3 separate regions of the Homo sapiens genome follow, and all the other regions are linked to region 1. Evidence: promoter capture Hi-C in human tissues and cell types (Jung and others, 2019). All regions are on one chromosome and are shown on one strand. The core of a region is centred on a gene start or on the middle of the fragment in contact, and the rest is flanking DNA. Distances in the headings are between cores, read along the strand shown.

What was found. The method cuts DNA at HindIII sites, captures the fragments that hold promoters and counts their contacts. A contact is called where the count stands out against the background at its distance.
Region 2: a fragment that was not itself captured here is called in contact with the fragment with the promoter of EPO in region 1 in 1 of the 25 tissues and cell types used here (aorta).
Region 3: a contact is called between a fragment that was not itself captured here and the fragment with the promoter of EPO in region 1, in 1 of the 25 tissues and cell types used here (dorsolateral prefrontal cortex).

The regions. Positions count from the first base shown.
Region 1 is chr7:100,719,122-100,721,777 of GRCh38, reverse strand. It overlaps EPO (erythropoietin), which reads right to left and starts at 1,310. Exons shown (of 5, transcript NM_000799.4): 1 at 785-1,310; 2 at 75-220. The coding sequence starts at 797. The HindIII fragment of the contact is 31,866 bases long and covers 1-2,656 here.
Region 2 is chr7:100,356,214-100,358,869 of GRCh38, reverse strand. PILRB (paired immunoglobin like type 2 receptor beta) reads right to left here and starts at 753. Exons shown (of 4, transcript NM_178238.4): 1 at 504-753; 2 at 1-180. The coding sequence starts at 567. It overlaps STAG3L5P-PVRIG2P-PILRB (STAG3L5P-PVRIG2P-PILRB readthrough), which reads right to left. Exons shown (of 17, transcript NR_036570.1): 13 at 1,987-2,120; 14 at 504-650. MIR6840 (microRNA 6840) reads right to left here and starts at 2,219; the gene lies at 2,149-2,219. The HindIII fragment of the contact is 7,568 bases long and covers 1-2,656 here.
Region 3 is chr7:100,452,115-100,454,770 of GRCh38, reverse strand. No RefSeq gene overlaps it. Among named protein-coding and RNA genes, the nearest start is that of SPACDR, 11 kb to the left of the region's middle. The HindIII fragment of the contact is 6,473 bases long and covers 1-2,656 here.

The sequences.
Region 1 (2,656 bases), core at 61-2,560:
TTCCTGGATCTGGGAGGAGTTCCCTGAAGCCCTGAGCGTGAGTTCTGTGGAATGTGCTGGGGAAGGGGTCTCACCGTGATATTCTCGGCCTCCTTGGCCTCCAAGAGGTACCTCTCCAGGACTCGGCTGTCACAGATGAGGCGTGGTGGGGCGCCCAGGACTGGGAGGCCCAGAGGGAGCGACAGCAGGGACAGGAGAAGCCACAGCCAGGCAGGACATTCTAGAACAGATAGCCAGGCTGAGAGTCAGGCGGGGAGGGAGAAGGGTGGCTGTGGAAGGACAGCTTCCTTCATCCCCACGTCTCTGCCCCAGCTCGTCCTTCCTGTCCCCAACCATGCAAGCACTCAGGTGCTGCCTCCCTGGCCTTCATTCAATCCTGCTGCCGTGTGCACACCCCACCCCCAGCTACCAGCATCCACTTCTCCGGCCAAACTTCAATCCTGGTGTGACAGAGGCTTCCCCTCTGGCAGATAAGTGGTGGCTCCAGCGCCCAGGTTATCAGCTTATCAGCTTCCTCTCCACTGGCACAGCAGAACCCCCAAACCTTCTTCCCCTCAACCCCCAAACTGTGTCCCCTTCACAGGTCAGGTTTTTGCCATCCCCAAGGACTCCCCCAAGTCCCCGCTGGCACGTGGAGGCTGCCCCACCCCCCTCCCCCTTCCGGGGTCCTTGACAAGTCGCCGGTCCTTGAACCCAGCCACCTCCTGGCCAATAGCCGGGGCGCTAAATCCCCGCTCAAACAGGGACCCGGGCGGGCGGGAGCGCCCAGCCCGCGAGTACTCACCGTGCACCCCCATCTCCGCGCCTGGCCGGGGTCCCTCAGCGACCTGGGGCGCGCCGGGTGACCACACCGGGGGCCCTCATCCCGGGAAGCTCGGCGGTGCAGGGCCAGCCCCACGGGCCTGGAGGAGAGGGCGGCTGTCCAGGGGGCGCGGTGTCGGAGCAGAGCGGGCGCGGTGGCCCCGGTCCGGCTCCGGGAGGACAGCGCGGTGCGGCGCAGCGCAGCGAGCGGCCGGGGTGGCCCAGGGACTCTGCGGCTCTGGCCGGGGGTCGGGGCTGTTATCTGCATGTGTGCGTGCGCGGGTGGGGGTGGGGGAGAGGCTGTGTGCGTGAGGGGTCGCCAGGGGTAGGGGCCACCCGGGGTCAGAGCAGGGGCAGGACGCCTGGGTTGAGGCTCGCCGGGGCGTGAGCGGGGCTGCTGCAGACGTGCGTGTGGGTCATGGGGGCTGCTCCCGGGCCCTGGGTCGCGGGAGGGGAGTGCAGCCGGTTGCGCACCCTTGGGACTGGCGGAGCGTGCTATCTGGGAAAGGCTGGGCTCCCGGACACCTCCCCTGGGGGGCATCCCGGTCTTGGGCGGAGACTCAGAGATGCCTGGGTTGCTGAGTTCCGCAAAGTAGCTGGGTCTGGAAGCCCAGAAGCTTTAGGGAGGGGCAAATGAGTGGTCTCCCTTCCCACAATCCCAGGACATGTTCTAGAAACAATGTTGACCATGTTGAGGAATTTGATGGGGGCAAATAGGGCAAGAAATTTGGGGTTCTTCCTCCCCACCTCACTCCTCACCGTCTAGTACTCTGCAAACCCAGACACTTAACTTTTTTTTTTTTTTCTGGAGATGTAGCCTCCCTATGTTGCCCAGGCAGTGCAGTGGTGCCATCTCCCGTTCACTACAACCTCTGCCTCCTGGGTTCAAGCAATTCTCCTGCTTCAGCCTCTGGAGCAGCTGGGACTACAGGCACACCTTTACACCCGGCTATGTTTTGTATTTTTAGTAGAGATGGGGTGTTGCCATATTGCCCATACCGGTCTTGAACTCCTGACCTCAGGTGATCCACCCTCCTCGGCCTCTCAAAGTGCTGGGATTGCAGGCGTGAGCCACCGCACCCAGCCCCCACCCCAGACACTTAACTTTTAGTGCACAGAGCACACAGTCCATTGTGCAGGACACACATGCACCTTGACATCTGTTTATTTGACCTGTGGTGTAGGTTAGCTAGGCTGCATTGCTGAGTTCTTAAGAACACTGAAATACAGCTAACACCAAGAGTGATGGGGGCTGGGATTTACAGCTAAGGTTTTATGGCTTCTGGAAACCCTGAGCCAGAGGAGTGAGATTCCCAGAGCAGGAGACCAAGACTAGCTGGTCTCTCACACCTTAGAAAGTGGCCTCGTCCTTGAGCCCTCAATGTCCTCATCTGTCAAATGGGTGTGGTGAAACTACCAGCCTATCCCATTCAGGTTTCATAAAAGACAGGAAAGGTCCAGGCGCCGCAGCTGACACCTATAATCCCAGCACTTTGGGAGACCAAGGCAGGAAGATCCTTTGAGCCCAGGAGTTCGAGACCAGCCCGGACAACATGGCAAGACCTTGTCTCTAAAATAAATAAATAAATAAAAAATAATTAGTCAGGTGTGGTGGCTCACGCCTGTAGTCCCAAATATGCAGGAGGCTAAGGCAGGAGGATCACCTGAGCCCAGGAGTTCGAGGCCGTAGTGAGCCATGATCGTGCCACTGCACTGCAGCCTGGGCGACAGAGTGAGAGCCTGTCTCAAAAACAAAAAAAGACTGGAATGTGTAGATCTGAGCTGTAAGAGTTAGCCGGGAGAAATCAAGAAAGATTTGAGGGAGGAGGTGACAATGACCTCAGCCTTGAAGGGG
Region 2 (2,656 bases), core at 96-2,595, 360 kb after region 1:
AGAAGGACTGCCCGTGGAAGTGGCCCCGTCTCCAGGATATTCTCACGTTGGGAACTATGGCTAACTCCCAGGGGTAATAGAAGGAGAAGGGGATTTCCACAGAGCCACCCATGGAGGCTGAGAGGTGTTTTGGTTGAGTGACCCCATAAAGGTAGCTTGGACCAGATCCTGTGGAGCCACCTAGAGGAAGGAGGGAGTGAGTGGGGGAGAGACCTTGAAACCACCTCAGGACACAAAGAGGGTGACCCCAGACCCTCCCACACCTTCACCCACAGGCAGTCGTGTGACAGGTGGCTGGACTGACCTCTGGCCTGGGTCTCCCACTCTTCAGGCATGGGGGAGGGTGGAGGGGGAAGAGATGGCGGCACCCACCCCTATGGGACCCGCCCTTGTTTGCTGGAGGTGGGAGCCTGGCCCCTGCCCCAGATGTTCTGCCTTTGTCTTGGGTTGGCCCCTCCTGTGGTTTGGGCAGAGACCATACCTGGGCGGTCCTGGGTACTCACCAGGCTGCAGAAATGCTGGCGGCTGCAGCAGGAGCAGCAGGGGCAGCAGCAGGGGCCGACCCATGGCCTTGTTCTTCTCCAGGGGACGGGGAGACCAGCAGAGCTGTCCAGGCAGGAGAGGGGCCCTGTGGAGGGGCTGCCTGAGGGCTGAGGTGAGTGGGGAGAGCCAGGGTGAGGCTCCCCAGAGGGCTGTGGGGGCCGGGGACCTTCCCCAAACCAGTACACCTCCAGGGTGACCAGCACTTCCTTTATCCATCTGGCTTCTTATTGCAAAAGGGCCTTAGGTGCCTTTTTATCCCTTGCCTAATTGCTCCGGCCAGGACTTCAAATCCTTTTTTTTTTTTTTTTTTTAGTAGAGATGGGGTTTTGCCATGTTGGCCAGGGTGGTCTCACACTCATAGGCTCAAGTAATCTGCCCGCCTCAGCCTCCAAAAGTGCTGGGATTACAGGCGTGAGCCACTGTGCCCGGCCTGACTTCAAATCCTGTGTTGAATAGAAGTAGTGAGAGCGGGCATCCTTCTCTTGTTCCTGATCTTGGAGGCAAAGATTTCAGTCTTTCATCTAAAATGACTGAAAGACTTTCAGCCATGGGCCTTGCATGACTGGCCTTTATTTTGTTGCAGTACATTCCTTCTCTTCCTGGTTTGTGGAGTGTTTTACCAGGAAAGGGTGTTCAGGCTGGGCACAGTGGCTCAAGTCACACAAAAGTGTCAAGTCAGCCCTGCCCAAGGGCCCCAGTGCCCATCTTCCTGCTGAGGGGCTGGGCCTCACCTTGGCTGGCTGGGCCCCTCCCACCTGGATCCCTGCAGACCCCACCGCACTCAGCCTCACTTCTCATCCCTTTCTCTGTCCAAGGCCAGCGCAGGCTCTTTCAGGGAGAGGAAAGGCGGGCCTGAGTCTGTGCTCTGCTGCACCCCAGATTCAGTCCTCAGAGAGGAGAAGGAGGAAGCCAGTGGAGGTCACAGGCGCTCAGCCCCCAGCCCAAGCACCAGAGCCCCCAGCTTGTCCTCTGTCCCTCTCCCTCCCTGGCAGGGGCTCCCATGCAGTCCCCAGGCACCACCACAGCCCAGCTGGCCTCTTCCCACCCCAGGCCTGCTCCCTTGGTGCAGGGACCACAGTCTTGCTCAAGGGGTGAGGGGGCTGACGGTCCCCTACACAGAGACTGGTCCCTCTCGAGGCCACCCCTTGACCCCCAGACATGAGACTGGATCTGCAGGGTCCCCTCTGACCTCCCTGCCCTACACAGGAGGGGACAGAGCTTGGAGAAGCCCTGTCCCAGGCCACATGACTTGCAGGGCAGTCCCAGGACTGGAGCCCCCTCTACCTGGATCTCTGGGCCTCAACTTCTGAGTTGCAGGAACTCAGGCATAGGGGAGCCCCAGGAGGTTGTTCCCTCATACAGCCCCTCAGGTCATTCCCTCCACACACCTGAGCCTATGGCTGAACCAGGAAGGTTCCTTGGTGCCAGGGCAGCTGGACTCACCCTGGGTGATGGTGAGGTGGGTCCCCTTGATGGACTGCCACGACAGCCTCCCTGATCTGTATGTCCAGCTGGACTTGGCAGAAGTACACAGACTGGTCCTCCTTCCGCAGGTTCGAGATCCTGAGGAAGCCTCCCTGAGGAAGTGAAGGCTCAGAGCAACAGTGGGCACCCCGCACAAAGTCCTGGGCCCGTCTCTAACAGGGGATCTGCAGGTCTTTGCCCGGGGGTGGTCACTGGAGCTTTGGTGACCCACAGGGCTCCCTCCATAGGAGGCTCTGCCCATCCTCTCCAGAGTAAGGTGGCATCAGCTGAGGGGCCGTGGGGACAGGAAGGCAGGATTTCACCAGAGGAAGTGATAACAATCTTCTTGAGACAGAAGCAGGCAGGGACAGGCCTCCCTTCTCTTGTCAGTCTCTTCCCTGGTCCCAGTAGGCTCCTCTGTGCTTCCCAGGGCCAGTCAGGCCGATCCACCCTCCTTCCCTTCACAGGTCTGAGGAAACAGGCTCCCCATGCTCAGGAAACCCCTCCGTCTGAGCCAGGCCCTATACACCTCATTCTCCTTGTTCAACCCACAGGGAAACTGAGGCACCGGGGCTTTGGACTGAACTGGTCCCACCTGCAAAGGTGGGCCGAAAAGAGGACAAGGGACCCCCTGGCTGTTTGGGCAAGG
Region 3 (2,656 bases), core at 104-2,603, 270 kb after region 1:
TTGATGACAGTTTTTTTGTGTGTTTTTTTGAGATGGAGTCTCACTCTATCGCCAAGGCTGGAGTGCAGTGGTGTGATCTCGGCTCATTGCAACCTCCGCCCGTGGGGTTCAAGTGGTTCTCCTGCCTCAGCCTCTGGAGTAGCTGGGATTACAGGTGCTTGCCACCACACCCATGTAACCGTTTTTGTTTTTTGGTTTTTTTTTTTTTTTTTTTGAGACAGAGTCTCACTCTGTCACCCAGGCTGTAGTGCAGTGGCATGATCTCCGCTGACGGCAAGCTCCGCCTCCCGGGTTCACACCATTCTCCTGCCTCAGCCTCCTGAGTAGCTGGGATTACAGGTACATGCCACCACGCCCGGCTAATTTTTTTTCGTATTTTTAGTAGAGAACGGGGTTTCACCATGTTAGCCAGGATCGTCTTGATCTCCTGACCTCGTGATCCGCCTGCCTTGGCCTCCCAAAGTGCTGGGATTACAGGCATGAGCCACCGCGCCTGGCCACACCCGGCTAACTTTTGTATTTTTAGTAGAGACAGGGTCTCACCATGTTGTCCAGGCTGGTCTTGCACTCCTGACCTCAGATGATCCACCTGTCTCAGCTCCCCGAAGTGCTAGGATTACAGGCGTGAGCCACTGCACCCGGCCAGTGGTTTTTGTTTTTTAGAGACAGGGTCTGGCTCTGTTGCCCAGGCTGGAGGGCAGTGGCGCAATCATGGCTCACTGCAGCCTCCAACTCCTGGACTCAAGCGATCCTCCCACCACAGCCTCCCGAATAGCTGAAACTACAGGTGTATGCCACCATGCCCAGCTAATTCTTTTTTAATATTTGTGGCGATGGGTTCTAGCTATGTTGCCCAGTCTGGTCTCAAACTCCTGGCCTCAAGCAATCCTCCTACCTCGGCCTCCCAAAGTGCTGGGATTACAGGTGTGAACCACTGCACCCAGCTAGGAATGTCATTTTGGAAGTGATAAAGAATACCATGTGCAGGAAGTAGTAGGAGGAGCCCTTGATGCGGAGTCAAGAGACCTTGGTCCTAGTCTCAATATTGCTACTACTTTGCTGTACGACTCTTATTTTTATTTTTTATTTATTTTTGAGACAGAGTCTCGCTCAGTTGGCCAGACAGGAGGACAGTGGCACAATCATAGCTCACTATAGCCTCCATCTCCTGGTCAATCCTCCTGCTTCTGCCTCCCAAAGGGCTGGGATCGCAGGCACTTGGTGATTTTTGAGAGTCACTTTCCTTCACTGAGACTCAAGCTCCTTAAATAAAATGATGACTTGATGGCTGGGCACAGTGGCTCACACCTGTAATCCCAGCACTTTGGGAGGCTGAGGTGGGTGGATCACCTGACGTCAGGAGTTCGAGACCAGCCTGGCTAACATGACGAAACCCTCTACTAAAAATACAAAAATTGGCTGGGCATGGTGGCTCACGCCTGTAATCCCAGCACTTTGGGAGGCCGAGGTGGGAGGATCACGAGGTCAGGAGATCGAGACCATCCTGGCTAACACGGTGAAACCCCGTCTCTACTAAAAATACAAAAAATTAGCTGGGCGTGGTAGCCGGCACCTGTAGCCCTAGCTACTTGGAAGGCTGAGGCAGGAGAATGGTGTCAACCTGGGAGGCGGAGCTTGCAGTGAGCTGAGATCTTGCCACTGCACTCTGGTCTGGGTGACAGAGTGAGACTCCATCTCAAAAAAAGAAAAAAAAATTAGCTGGGCATGGTGGCGCGCACCTGTCATCCCAGCTACTCGGGAGGCTGAGACAGGAGAATTGCTTGAACCTGGGAGGCAGAGGTTGCAGTGAGCTGAGATCACGCCACTGAACTCCAGCCTGGGCGATAGAATCAGACTCTGTCTTCAAAAAATAAAAATAAAAATAACAAACTTCCTCAGGCTTCAGGGAGTGTTGAGTTAACCTGCAGAAACAAGGTAAGTTCCTGGGAGGTGCTAACTAGCAGTTGCCGGAGACAGAACCAGCCCAGCCTTTGGGCTCACAAAGACCAGGTTCAAATTCTGCCTTTCCTGGCTGTGTGACCTTCAGCAAGTGAATTAACCTGTCTGAATCTCTGTCTCAAAAGCAAGGCTCTGTCTCAAGAAAAAAAAAAAAGGAAAATAAATGAAATAGTTATTAGAGTGTGGTCCTGGACCAGAGCATCGCATTCCCCAGAGAGTAGTAGAAATTCAAACTCCAGGCCCTGCACCGCAGACCTACTGAATCAAAAACCCTAGGATGGGGGCCAGCAATCTGTTTGAACACGCCTGCTGAAGTTTGGGAATCACTGCCACACTGCATGGGAATGTAGACTGTTGGGATTCTGAAGCTTAGGACATATCACAATCTCCTGAGAGCTTGTTAAAAACACAGATTCCAGGCCGGGCATGGTGGCTCACACCTGTAATCCCAGCACTTTGGGAGGCTGAGGCAGGTGGATCACGAGGTCAGGAGATGGAGACCATTCTGGCTAACGCAGTGAAACCCCGTCTCTACTAAAAATACGAAAAATTAGCCAGGCGTGGCGGCACTCACCTGTAGTCCCAGCTACTTGGGAGGCTGAGGCAGGAGAATTGCTTGAACCCGGGAGGTAGAGGTTGTAGTGAGTGGAGATTGCACCACTGCACTCCAGCCCGGTGACAGGGCGAGACTCTGTCT